Linked DNA regions of Homo sapiens: regions 2, 3 and 4 are each linked to region 1. The links are contacts of gene promoters, found by promoter capture Hi-C in blood cells and fetal thymus (Javierre and others, 2016). All regions are on one chromosome and are shown on one strand. Each heading gives the region's core, a stretch centred on a gene start or on the middle of the fragment in contact. The rest is flanking DNA. Distances are from core to core; before and after follow the strand shown. Region 1 holds the start of PLSCR5-AS1 (PLSCR5 antisense RNA 1). Region 2 has its middle 9.8 kb from the start of PLSCR4. Region 3 has its middle 30 kb from the start of PLSCR4. Region 4 has its middle 46 kb from the start of PLSCR4.

Region 1 (3,507 bases), core at 545-3,044:
TTCTATGTGTTCTATGGACAAAGCTACTATATCTCTTTGATTAGAATAGTAAATGTGTTGCTATTTTAATGTGTGCAAGACTTTGAACATCAAAAATTTTTGGACACATAGCTTTGCCTTTTTAAGATAACCAATATTTCCTGATTTTGAAAATTAGCACTTCATTCTTGTTTCAGTATGTTTTATTTATGTAGAATCACAGGACACATGGCAATAAAGCCAATATATACAGTTTAGAATCACCTAAATTATGTATCTTCTTTCCTATGGGCCTTGAGATCACATATCCCAGTTTAGATCTCATTTCAGCAGCACGTTACATTAAAACAGCATTAACTCAAAAGCTGTGTTTCTAAGACTTGCTAAGTTAGTTTTGTAAAAAAAACAAAAAAAAAAAACAAAAAAAAACCTTATTCTCGTATTTGTATAAATTGAATATTTAAAAAATAGAAAGTTGTAAATTTGATCTGTAGCAATATAAACTATCTTAACAGGTTGTCCTGGACATACAACTTAGGTAGAGGAGACAGCCTAATTGAAAGTGTATATTTATTTTTCATCCATTCATACATAAATATCTCAGCAAGGGCATTTAGTTCTCAGGACTTCAGGAAACACTATGCACGTAGAATACAATGCAAATTTTGCAAACTGAGCTGTTCCAACTTCACCCTATCCCCAAAGGATTTGGCATGACTTTCCTACGAGTAATATGATTGAGGAGGACTTTAAACATAAGAGTTTTAGCATTCATGCTATAGAAATGTCCTAAGTAACCCTCTCTATTCTCTATCTTTTACTACCCTGAAAAAAGTGATAGTTTCTCTTGAATTACTTTCAGCATCAGGATGGGAAGCAGAATAAACAAACAAATAGCTGATAAAGTTGATTTGTGAACTCCTTCTAGCTGAGAAGGACTGATTGATGTCTAGTTGGTCTTAACTTCCTATATGGTACATTAACCAGGAGGATTTTTTTAATGTAAAAATAGGATTTAGGATTTGTTAGAAAGTATTGACCTAATAAATGTCTGAGTATAATATAAAAATGTGATTTAACAATGGCCAATAATATTTAAATGTTTTAATAATTATAAAATTTTAGCAACTGAAATTTGAAAGTTTACAAATTATGCCTAGAAATTAATTTAATTCCTTCTGAAATATTTTTTCAAACATATCTTCTTTTACATTTTTAAGATGGAGAATTCAGGTTTAAAATCTGGACCTCAAGTAAAGAAATCGCCTTCATGCTTAGATGATACAATTGAACTATGTACCTGCTGCCATCTTGTGGTGGCTGAGCCTTAATTATTTATCCTGATATTCTCCATCTGCATACAAAAAAGAAAAAGAATTATGATGGACTAGAAAACTGTCAAAAAAGCAAAGTTTCTAAAAAGTAAACTGAAAAGCTAAATTTACAAACCTATGCTTATATGATGGAATGAATAACATGGAATTGTCATTTTGAAGATGACAAATAAAATAATTCAAATCTCTCATGAAGTAAACACCCTCAGAAGTATAAAACCAACTTTTTTCACTGTCAAATTTAATACTCCTTATTTTCTTTCTAAAGGTGAAAACCATTAATGAAAAGCTTACAATTGGGAAGATTTCAAAGTACTGGTCAGGATTTGTAAATGATGTCTTCACAAATGCTGACAATTTCGGAATTCATGTTCCTGCAGATCTAGATGTAACAGTCAAAGCAGCAATGATCGGTGCCTGTTTTCTCTTTGTAAGTATGGGCTTTGAGAGCATGAGTGATTTGTTATTCTCCCTCTTGCTTGTTAATTACAATATAGCCTATCCCATTTACACAGTTTTTACCCCCAAAGAGTATATTTTATTCATAGAAGGATAGCTTAGGACCAATGTTCTTCAAAAATTAGAATTTAGAACCCTGCATTTCTGTTAGGCAGCCCCTCTTCAGTGATCTCATATCCCCTTTCTCAAAGATTGAAGTGTTATCACATCCTATTCATCATTTCTTTAAAACCTAGTTTCCCCTTGCTTTTACGTTCAATTTAGATTTTTGGCTTATTTTCACTTGAACTAAAAAATATGCAAACATAAATATCACATGATTTATCCTGGATAAAGTTCCAGACTGGTTCATTGCATAATAGTGAGCTAGATGATATTAAGAATGTTGCCTTCTCAGTGTGAACATAGACACATGAAATGATTTGATGAGTTAATAGGTACCAGTTGCCATTATTTCTAAGATACTATGTTCTTGTTATTACTTTCCAACTTACAATTATATTGAAAACCTTTTCTTCTTTGGTATATGGAGATTGGTGATAGAAGAACAGAAGTCAAATAATACCTGTATCAAAATGCTTGACCTATATCCTGTTCTTAGTTTTCCCTCTAATATTTACCTAATTTCCTACCATTTTCAATGCAGCCATAAAAACTTATGGAGTTTTTATTTGTTGATATATAAACACATGTATTTTCTATAAATACATGAAAAAGATGTGTATACACAGGCACACACATAAGTGATTAAAACAAACAGCATAAGAGTTGAGAGTAGGTTGCAGACATGATGCCTTTTCCCCTAATTATATTAGTGTGCATTTCCTAAAAACAAGGAATTTTTTTACACATCACAGTACTATTGTCAAAGTCAGGCACTAAACACTGATTCAATGCTATTATCTAATCTACAGACTTTATTCGGTTTGCACTGATTTGCATAATGATGTCCTTTCTGACAATAGAAAATCCAAGATCATGAAGTATGTCCATTTTGTCACATCTCATTTGTTTCTTTTCACCTGGAACTGTTCCTAAGGGGTGTGTGTGTGTGTATATGTGTGTGCATGAACATGTGCACATGCATGTGCATTTCCCTGAGTCTCATGACATTGGCATTTTTGTTTTTGTTTTATTTTTTGTTCTATTTTTTGAGATAGAGTCTCACTCTGTCACCCAGGCTGGAGTGCAGTGGCGCAATCTTGGCTCACCACAACCTCTGCCTCCCAGGTTCAAGCGATTCTCCTGCCTCAGCCTCCCGAGTAGCTGGGATTACAGGCATGTGCCACCATACCCGGCTAATTTTTTTGTATTTTTAGTAGAGATGGGGTTTCACTGTGTTAGCCAGGATGGTCTCGATCTTCTGACCTCGTGATCCACCCGCTTTGGCCTCCCAAAGTGCTGGGATTATAGGTGTGAGCCACCTTGCCCAGCCGACATTGGCATTTTTTAAGTGCATAAGCCAATTATTTTGTAAACTGTGGCCTAATTTCAGTTTGTGTCATGGTTAGATTCAGGTTATGCACTTTTGGTAATCATGAAATTTTTATAAAGCTTAAATTCCTTCTCATGTTTTATTGTTTTCTGGGGTTTCAGAATGCTAAATCTGATTGTTTACATTAATGCCCTATTTACTGAGTCTCTTCTAATGATATTTGGAAAATATATGAACTAAAAATTATTCCCTGATGACTTCACTGAAACTCAGAATTTAATACATAGATATATATGTATA
Region 2 (3,507 bases), core at 368-2,867, 330 kb after region 1:
AGAAACCCTGTCTTATTTTCTACTGAATCTCCAGCACCTAGTATAGAACCAGCTCAAAGTACTCAGTAAATCAGAATGGAGAGGTCATGGAAGGATTCCCAAAGTGGGTGATATTTAAAATGAGTCTGGGAGAATGAATGGAATGTAGCCAGATGGAGAAATGAGGATAAAGCAGTGGCAAAATATTTATGAAGTCATAAACCTCACAGTGTCATGAACCAACATAATACAATGGTGAATTTATATAGATACAGATACAGATATATGTATATAGATAGATAGATATAGTATCTAGCATATCACTAGAACATGGAAAACAGGGAAGTGCTACATGGTGAAGCAAAAAAAAAAAATTAAGCAAATGCAAGAAAATTAGGGCTGTATGTTCTACAATACATATTAAGAGTTTTCTTGAAAACTGTAGGCTTTAAAATGAAAAATCTTCCCTGAAAAATGAAAGACTTTAACCTGGAAGTGACATTATCAGCTTTGTATTTCAGAAGTCTTGAGCAATTTTGTAGAAAAAATAGACTCTTTTCATTACATGTTTAAGACTTTAGTAAATTTTTTAACATTCATTATTTTAAATCACTGACACATACTTGAATAACTCACATTCCTAAATATATACATAAAATGTCAGTAGATCTGATTCAGCCAAAATTCTTTAAATCAGCAAATAATTCACTTTGCATATAGACACTATACAAAAAGAATTTGTTATTTATCGACATTTAAGGACAATGGCAAACTTGTGTGTCTTTAATCACAACTTAAACATTCACACTATTGAATTAAATGCCCTGATGTTATAATAATTATGCAGATTGTGACATACGAGGCTGCCGTGTACAAAATTTGAATTTAAAATACTCTTTTCATCGATATATAGTTAAATTACTTGCCTGACTTCAAGAAATATTTCCTTTTTCTCATTTTTGCTTTTGGGAATGCCAGCCTCAAAAATTTTCTAGTTCCTCAAATTTTTGTTGAACTGCATTAACCATTTTAGGATTTTGTAAAAATATATAAATACGTAATGATCACATGGCCTAGCCATTAGTAAAGTATAAATACTCTAAATTTAAAATAGTTTTAGACATTTCACAGATATATTTGTATTAATCTGTCTGAAGTATACCTAAGATAAAATATTGTTAAATTAAAAAGTAAGATTTAAATATATCTCTATGAATAGACAGAAAAGTTGGTTAATATGCTTTGTGAAAGGAAAAAAGAGATACCCTATAATTAAATTTCAAGGAACAGAGCACGCTTTTGAAAAAGATTGTTTTACTGTCTCTTTCTACATTGAATTGAATATCATAACATTTTAAACAAAGTTTATGACAGTAAGCTTTAGATTCAATACAGACTTTGGTTCAGATCTCAGCTCCATCACTTGTTGGGTCAAGTTACTTATCCTCTCAAGCCACAGTTTTCTCATTTTTTTCCTCTTTCCACTACTGCCACACCCCAGATAACCCATATTTATAAAAGTAGTTTGTTCTTCCATTTTTCCCCATGCTTATGTAATCACATGTAAGCATATCTAGTGTATGCATACATATAAGCATGGCGTATATATCTATATGTAAGTATATATAAAGTTTTTTCCAACAAAATTTAACCATTGTGTTTTTAGAGCAATTTTACTTCAGAAAGATTTAAGATCCTTTTCCATTTGTAAGCAATCATTTCTAAATATGCTTCTCGATGTATTTAAATGATAATTGATAGAAGTTCCGTATGTTCCCCCAAATACTTCAGTTGCTCTTTTACATTCTTTATTCTTGTGTTCTTGGAGATGCAACTCACTTTCTACTCCATGTATCAAGGTCAATTTGACCCAGATAGCATAAATGAGTTCAAGCTTTTAAAATCATATCAACTATAGCCATGGGGACAAAAATCATGAAAATATTGTATTGAAATCACTCTCAATTTTCTTTTCAACATCACAGAATGTGTGAAGATTCAGAAAACTAGTAAAAAGCGAATTGTGTCCCAATTTTCAAGAAAAGAAAATATTGACTTGTAGAAATTACACACAGAAACACTCACACATTTTGTAATAGTTTCCTAGTATTGCCTTAAAAAATTACCACACACGAGATCATTTAAAACAACGGAATTTTATTTTCTCTCAGTTGTGAAGGCCAGAAAACTGAAAATATATATATATATGTTGGTAGGGTTATTTCCTTCTTGCAGACTCAGAAAGAATTTGTTTCATGCCTCTCTCTTAGACTCTAGTGGTTGCTGGCAATCCTTGGTGCTCCTTATCTAGACGCATCACTCTAATCTCTGTCTTTATTGTCACATGGGTTCTCTCTGTGTGTCTGTCTCTGTATCCAAATTTCTCTCTTCTTATAAGGCCACAGTTATTGGATTAGGGTGCACCCTAATACGGTATTGGTTTTCTTTTATTTTGATTACATCTATACAGACAATTTCTAAATAAAATCATATCAAAATATCTTTTTGGGGGACACAACTCAACTAACAACGCATTGTAATGTCAGTTTCAGGCAAATTTATAGTACAGAAGTTGTAAATAATAGCATTTGAGCATTTAACAAAGGCAGTATTGTGTTCTCAATCAAATCTTATAAAATGGACTCATTTCCCCTTCCCTCCTGACTGGTGGAGTAGAGAGATCATGAGCATGTCATAATAAACACTGTTTTTAACACATTAAGCAGAGATTTTAATATTCATTGCTGTGAGCAAGACATTTTAAAATGTGGATTATGTAAAAGGAAAGTCTAAATGGATTTTTAGCTGGTTGAACAATTACAGAAGGTATTGATTACTGAATTTCTGTCATCCTAGAGGTTAATCTCAGAAATGACCTATTAGATTCTTTATCTAACCCAACATTTGTTTCAGTGACATAAATTTAGACATAAAGAAAAAGATTATCAAATTCCATGTGACAAAATCTAAGAAAATGGCTAACATGATAGGTAAACATAATACAGATTCAATTATTAACCTTAATATGCTACATCTGATTTTAGTCACAAGGCTGAGAAGCCAAATGGGCTTAATAAGGAAGATAAAATTATATAGGCACAGTGTGAGTTTCTATTTCTAAAATCAAAAATCAGCTGTCCACACAATAACCATATCTGCAGTTTTAAAAAGCTGGTTAGATGAGAGCCTCCTAAACATGGCTCATCTGATTGTGTTCTTAACTCCCATAACATTTATGTCAAATCCATCTGTGAAGAGCATCTGATAATGAGAAACTATATCCTGAAACACATTGTTGCTGGTGTCCCGTTCCTATCTAATGCTGCACACAAATAGAAATGTTTCCCATTTTTCAAATATTTTTCTCACACTGATTGGTCAGAGGGCAAATTTATTTATCATCTTGGCCTATGTGAAAAGGTATAAAAATTGTGAAACCAATGAAGCACTTTAAATCAAAAAATCATGAGGGTAGTATTGAAAACAGTGGACAATTTGCTTTATATTGTTTACTGGTAAAACCACCAA
Region 3 (3,507 bases), core at 675-3,174, 310 kb after region 1:
TTTCTCCCTGCCTTCTTCATTCTCTCTCTTCTTCCCTTCTTCTATCAATTCCCACTTGTCTCTCATTTTGAAGATAAATTCTGAGAAGGTTCAAAGTATCCTTTGAGGATTTTAGAAGTCATATTTGTTCCATGTCCTGTGGCTTGCTAGGAGGTGTGCTCAAGCCTAACAAAGAGCATTCTAGACAGCTACAGAAAGACCCAGTGGGGTATCTTCTTTTGGAGAACTCCAGAAGACATCACCATGGATGGAGAGCACTTCAGCAAGTGAGCATGCTGATCCCAGGGTTGTCCAGGAACAACTTTGCTGGTTGCTTACTCTATATTTTTATCACACTGATTACAAACACAGAGACTATTTAAAGAGTTGTCTGTATCTTTTCCAAAAACAGGACTGGCTACATAATTCAGTGAGCCCAGGGCAGACTAAAAATGCTGAGCCCCTTTTAAAAAAATATTAATATCTTCAAGATGAAGATGTAACACATTAAGCCACATGCAACTGCACAACTCCTAGGCCCACAAAGCCAGCCCTGTCCAGAAGGTAATGTCACTTTAAATATTGAAGCCAGCTAAATCTCTCCTATTCTGTCTAGTACTGGATACCATAGGCATTAGAATATAGCAAGTTCAGGTCAGAATCCTAGCTCTATCACATATCAACTATTGGATTTGGGACAAGTTATTTTGAGTTTCATTACTGAAATATAGTTATGCAAATTAAACTTTCATTCACATGCCAACATCACATATAAATTATACTTGTAAGTTCTATTCTTATGAATTTACAAATAATGTTATGTGTTATAAAATAAGAATGTATAAAAATTTGTGGCTTTAAAATTTTGGTATTTGTTTTAGAGTATTAATTACAGATGGCTGTTCATATCCACGGGTTCCTCATCTGTGGATTCAACCAACCATGGATCGAAAATAATCAGAAAAATTAAAATGGATGATTGACTTTGTACTGAACATGTAGATTTTTTTGTCATGATTCCCTAATCAATGCAGTAATACAACTATTTATATGGCATTTAAATTGTATTAGGCATTATAAATAATCTAGAGATGATTTAAAGTACATGGGAGGATGTGCATAGGTTATATGCAAGTACAGCATGAATGTTGTTTTGTTGTAACATTGAAGAGAAAAAAAATCAATTCTTGGCCTGGACCACGTCTGTGTTGAGTTTGCACGTTCTCTCCATGTCTGTGTGGGTTTTCTGCAGGCATTCTGATTTCCTCTCACGTTCCAAAGATGTGCATGTTAGTTTAACTGGCATGTCAAAATGGTCCCATTCTAAGTGAGTGTGGGTGTGTGTGCCTAATTGCTCCCAGCAATGGAATGGTGTCAGCCTTGGCCCTGGGCTGCTGGGATAGGCTCCAGCTACCCGGGATCCTGAACTGGAGTAGTTGGATAAACATTTATCTGATTTGTTTTTTTGAGCCTTTCTTAAAGGTATATATAGCTCACATTTATTTCACTGTTGAATATCAGAAGTGTTTTGGTCTTTAATTAGAAGTTTGGTGATGTTTTTGTGACAAGAAATATGCCATAAGAACTTAATTCTTATTTATGTCAATTAGCCTATGATTAAATAGATTTTGTTATACATTGTTTTACTTAAAGTTGCAGTTTCCAAGAACTTATCAATGATGATGAGAATTTATTGTGCTACAACTTTTTTATATGAGGAGCTTGAGCATCCATAGATTTTGGTAGGGATTCTGGAACCAATCACCCATGGATTCCAAGGAACAACTGTATACTAATTAAAACAGTCTTTTGGAGTTTTTTTTTCTTGCCCCCTTGGCTATCAATTTTATCGCATTCTCAGTTGTGAGCTACTAATCAAAAGTTTGATTCATGATTAAAAATACTTTTAGATGTTTTTAATATTTAAGTAAAAGTTATAAATTTAGGATTAAGAACATAATATAATGCATTATATATGTTGTATATTGTATTCTTCATTATAATCATTCAAAATTAGTTTTTGATACTCATAGGTACATCCATTTAAATTACACCATGCTTAATAATTTTAAAGATTCATTTATTTATGTTTTGTCTTTCAGTCTTATACAGAAAAGCAGGAGTGCTAATTTTGGACTGTGAAGCTCTCTCTCTGGGTGGCCTGGCAACTTTTTTCATTGTCTTCCAGTGCTAGAGAACTGGCTTTTTAAAGTACATCATTAAGAAACTGGCCCCAAAACTGAAAGTGTCTATTACCCTGAGCAAGATCATTGTTATGCTTATTCCATTAAAAAAAAAAAACAAAAAAAGCAGCGAGGGGCAGAATATCTCTGCCAGGACCCAGCTCCATGGTCCAATCACAACTCTCTAGCATATTACAAAAACAAGAGACCCTCATTCCTGCTGACCCTCTGCCTGTGAGTTCTTACGTACATTACGTGATGCTTGCTGCTGTGTGCTGCTCCCGGTCTTTGGAAGAGAAATCTTAGTAAGTCATTGTGGAATAACTGAGGCAAAATTGTAGCTTTACAAAAAAACTGTGGCAAGAACAGTTAATGAGATCTACCTTCTAAACAAATGTGTAAGTTTTAATACAGTATTGTAAACTTTAAGCACAATTTTATACAGCAGATCTAACATCCATCTTACAAAATTGAAACGTTATGCCCATTGAATAGCAACTCCCTATTTCCCCCTCCATCTAGCCCCTGGCAACCATTCTAATCTCTGCTACTATGAGTTGACTATTTTAGTTACCTCATATAAGTGGAATCAGGTCATTGATCTTCTGTCGCTGTCTTATTTCACTTAGCAAAATGTCCCCAGGAATTCTTAACCTTATTTACCAGAGAGAAACATAAAGATGGGTGAAGTGAAATTACCAAGGTCACAAATCTAGTGATCAGCATTAATTGTCATTTGACTTTCCTATTCCAAGATAAATCATCAGTGATGCAGGCTTCTTGAGGGTGGAGGGGAAGCTAACATATTACTTACAGAGCCTCTCACAAGCACTTTTTATGTATTGACACATTTCATTCCATAACAAACCTCTAGGACAGGTACTAATATTACCCCTTTTTTACTGTGGAAGAAACGGAGGCAAAAGGAAGTTTGATAACTTCCTGGAAGTCATCTCCCCTTTAGTGAGTTGTAAAGCTCAAGTTCAAATCCAGATATCCTGGGGCCAGAGTCCATTTTCTTACCCTCTAGCTGTATTGAAACTCACATACTGGCTCAGGAACCCTTTCCTACTGCTAGGAATGCTGTCCAAACATAGCCATTCTGGGTCAAATAACCAGTTCTTTCCCTGAGGCAGGGAAAGGGAAGAATCTCTCCACTGGGAGTCAGGTTGTTGTGCAGGGCATCCGCAGGTAAGCAGAGCCAAGGTTGTGACCCAAGTCACTGGTGGGGTAGGCCAAAGGCAACAGAAATGCAGGGAGATGATGGGATAAATCAATAATCTTAAATCCATCAGATGACAGTTTATGACATATTTTTTCATGTCACCCATTAGGGATTCAAAAT
Region 4 (3,507 bases), core at 744-3,243, 290 kb after region 1:
AACAAACTACTTTGCTGGCCAAATCCTAAATTGTAGTTTGGCGTGATTAGACACAAAAGTCTCCATTTGCAACCATATACAAATAGTGTTGTCTTCCCTATGCACTACTTTTTAGAGGCAAACATCTTATTAATACAAATTAAGAACTTAAAACAATTTATTATAAGCAGAAGTATTTCATCGTGATCAAAGTGGGGAATATGAAAACACTCAATTAGAGTTACATTCCAGCTCTGCCAATTATTAGCTCTGTACGTCACCTTTCTCTTACCAGGTCCATGTTTTGGGCAAGTTGTTTAACCTCCCTATACCCAGTTTTTCCATCTGTAAAATGGAAAAACTACTTACCTATATAAATTGTGAGAATTAAATATTTATTATGTGTAAAGTGCTTATAATTACACCTGGCATATAGAGAGCAAGCATTACAAATGTATTATTATTATATTACTTTTTCTTTTTAAAATGAAAGTCTATTGTTAACTTGATATTTCAGGTTTATATCAGACCTGTATTATTCAATTTTTCAGAAGCTATTCAATTGCATTGCCTTTTAAAAAATACTTAAAACATAATTCTATTTCAATTTTGAATTAACAGAAATAGAAGAAACATATTCATTACAGCTAACCCTTAAGCTAAGGATCTCCCACAGCAGTGATTGTCAAACTTAATTGTACATCAGAATCACCTGGAGCATTGTTCAACTACAAATTGCTGGGCCCATCCTCAGAGTTTCCCATGCAATATGCTTAGGGTAGAGCCAAAAATATTGTATTTCTAAGTATTTCAAATATAATATTAATGCTGCTGCTCTGAGGACCACTCTTGAAAACCATTGTCTTAGTAAATGAAATCTACTGTTTGTTGGGGAAATAATTTTGGAAATTTAAACAGTAAATTTATTCTGTGTATGCATGTCCATATATAAAGTGATTATTTAAAAGATGTGTAAAATTAATAATATGTAATTTGCTATGTAATTACAAAGGTAAGATTTACGTTTACATAAATAAAAATTATGTAAATACAAATATGCAGGAGGTTTAACATCCATGTAACACTTTTAATTACATGTTAAGTGATTTTAAAGCAACCAACAGAAAAATGATTCAACAAGCAGTTACAAATTGTCCTGAAACAGATGAAAAATAGCAAAACAGAAATAGAATTTAGTTAAAGGAAACAAATCGAAATGATAGATCTGAAAAATAACGTAAGATAAATTTTTAAAGCTTGCTAGATTGGCTCAGTAGTAGAATGGAGATGGCAGAGAATAGAATCGTTAAGTTCCAATCTGAATACTGATTTACAGATAGGAAGCAGTTATTCCAATCTGAATAACGGAGAGAAAATAGACTGAAAAAAACATATGAATAGAGTCTCAAGGACCTGTAGAATAATAAACCATCCAACATTTATGACATTAGAGAGGTAGGTTGAAAGAGCATTAAAAAATAATGATGTTTAAAACTTTCCAAATCTGGCAAAATATATAAGCCCACAGATTCAAAACACTGACATGTGTTTACATGGAAAATCCCAAGAAATCTACAAACCAAATAAACAAAACTTCTAAAACTAGTAAATGAGGTTAGCCAGGCCACATGACACATATCAAGGCATGAAAATCAATAGCATTTCTACTAACAATGAGCAGGTAGAAAACAAATTTTAAAGTGCCGTAACATTTATAATCACTCCAAAGAAAATTAAATACTTAGGTATTCATTAAAAAGTCTTAATTTTAGGTAGAATTGTTTCTCTCATTCACTTAAACATGTACAGAATCTGTACGCTGAAAATTATAAAATTCTGGTTAAAGGAATGAAGGAATAAAGGAATGAAGGAAGATAGAAATATAACAATAATTCTTCCCAAATTGATTTCTAAGTTTAATGTAATTCCTGTAAAATCCTCAAAATTGTTTTCTGTAGACCTAGAGCTTATCAGAAAATTTACTTATCATAAAATTATCATAAAATTTATTCTAGGGGCACAGGCCCTAGAATAATTTTTAAAAATGAAAAAAAAGTTAAGAGAGATCTCAGTATACCGAATAGTAACATCTAAGAGTTACAATAATGAGCACTGTGTGATATTGATAGAGGCATAGACATAGAGGTCAATGGGAAAGGGTAGAAAAATAGACCTGCACAAACTTGTTCAACTGATTTTTGACAAAGGTACAAAAGCAATTCGATGAAGGAAAAATTGACTTTTCAACAAATGGTGTGGAAGTAATTAGACATCCAAGGCAAAATTTTACATGGCTTAACCTCACACTTTACACAAAAAAGTTATATGCAAACATGTCAGATATATAAATGTAAAACATAAAATTATAACAATTTAAGAAAAAAATAGGAGAAAATCTTCATGATCTAGGATTAAGCAAAGACTTTATAAACTTGATAACAAAACCACAATACATAAAAGGAAAAAATAATTTGACCGCAACAAAATTTAAAACTTTTTTTTACTCTGCAAAAGGTCCTCTGATGTGAATGAAAAGATAAGCCACAGATTAGGAGAAAATAATTGCCAATTGCATGTAAAAAGTACCCAGAATACAGAGATTGTGGTCAAAATTCAATACCCAAACAAAGAACAACTGTGCATCTAGACTTCCTTATCAAGTGAAAATATGCTTAAACATTGAAGGTAATATAAAGATAATTTGAGGTAAATTAAAATAAAGAATTTGCCACCACCGTACCTGGACTACAAGTAATGCTAAAGAAAGCTTTTCAGGCTGAAGCAAAATTAGACCAACTGCAAACTTCTATGCCTATGAAGAAATAAAGACTTTTTTTAATCTTAATTCCTTTTAATTTTTAAAGCAAAAATTATAGTACAATTATAAACAACAGGGTTTATAACATGTAAAGATGTGCTATACATAAAAACTGTAACACAATGATTGTGCATAGAGTAAATGGACCCATATATTTCAGTCTTTCTACTTTTATAATAATTGGTATAATACTACCTCTAATATGCTGTAAAACATTAAGGATTTATACTATAATCCAGAAAAAAAAAACCCACTAAAAATTATGTAAGCAGTACTGTAGAACAAATGGACTCAATAAATATTTACATAACATTTCTTCCAAAGGCTGCAGAATACAGATTCTTCTCCTCAGCATATGGATTATTCTCAAGGATAGACTACATGTTACATCACAAAACAGATCTTAAAACATTCAAAAAATTGAAATAATATCAAGCATCTTCTCTGAACACAATGCAATAAAACTAGAAATCGAAGAATACTGGAAACTATACAAACACAGGAAGAATAAATATGCTCCTGAATGACCAGTGGGTCAATGAATAAATTAAAAAGAAAACTGAAAAATTTCTTCAAACAAATAATAATGGAAACATACTATTCCAAACCTATGGGATACAGCAAAAGTAGTACCAAAAGGGAAATTTATAGCTATAAGTGATGACATAAAAAAGAAGAAAAACTTGATAAATAATGATACATGTTAAAGA

What was found. The method cuts DNA at HindIII sites, captures the fragments that hold promoters and counts their contacts. A CHiCAGO score of 5 or more calls a contact.
Region 2: a contact is called between a fragment that was not itself captured here and the fragment with the promoter of PLSCR5-AS1 in region 1, in 9 of 17 cell types (naive CD4 T cells, monocytes, fetal thymus and 6 more). The highest score is 9.8, in naive CD4 T cells.
Region 3: a fragment that was not itself captured here is called in contact with the fragment with the promoter of PLSCR5-AS1 in region 1 in 2 of 17 cell types (naive CD8 T cells and total CD4 T cells); the score reaches 6.9 in naive CD8 T cells.
Region 4: a fragment that was not itself captured here is called in contact with the fragment with the promoter of PLSCR5-AS1 in region 1 in 1 of 17 cell types (monocytes); the score reaches 6.3 in monocytes.

What each region holds. Positions count from the first base shown.
Region 1 is chr3:146,587,889-146,591,395 of GRCh38, reverse strand. PLSCR5-AS1 (PLSCR5 antisense RNA 1) reads right to left here and starts at 1,794. Exons shown (of 2, transcript NR_046698.1): 1 at 1,608-1,794; 2 at 1,071-1,333. It overlaps PLSCR5 (phospholipid scramblase family member 5), which reads left to right. Exons shown (of 8, transcript NM_001085420.2): 6 at 1,582-1,743. The HindIII fragment of the contact is 1,724 bases long and covers 1,605-3,328 here.
Region 2 is chr3:146,259,185-146,262,691 of GRCh38, reverse strand. No RefSeq gene overlaps it. Among named protein-coding and RNA genes, the nearest start is that of PLSCR4, 9.8 kb to the right of the region's middle. The HindIII fragment of the contact is 516 bases long and covers 1,360-1,875 here.
Region 3 is chr3:146,278,880-146,282,386 of GRCh38, reverse strand. No RefSeq gene overlaps it. Among named protein-coding and RNA genes, the nearest start is that of PLSCR4, 30 kb to the right of the region's middle. The HindIII fragment of the contact is 4,771 bases long and covers 1-3,507 here.
Region 4 is chr3:146,295,228-146,298,734 of GRCh38, reverse strand. No RefSeq gene overlaps it. Among named protein-coding and RNA genes, the nearest start is that of PLSCR4, 46 kb to the right of the region's middle. The HindIII fragment of the contact is 1,511 bases long and covers 1,238-2,748 here.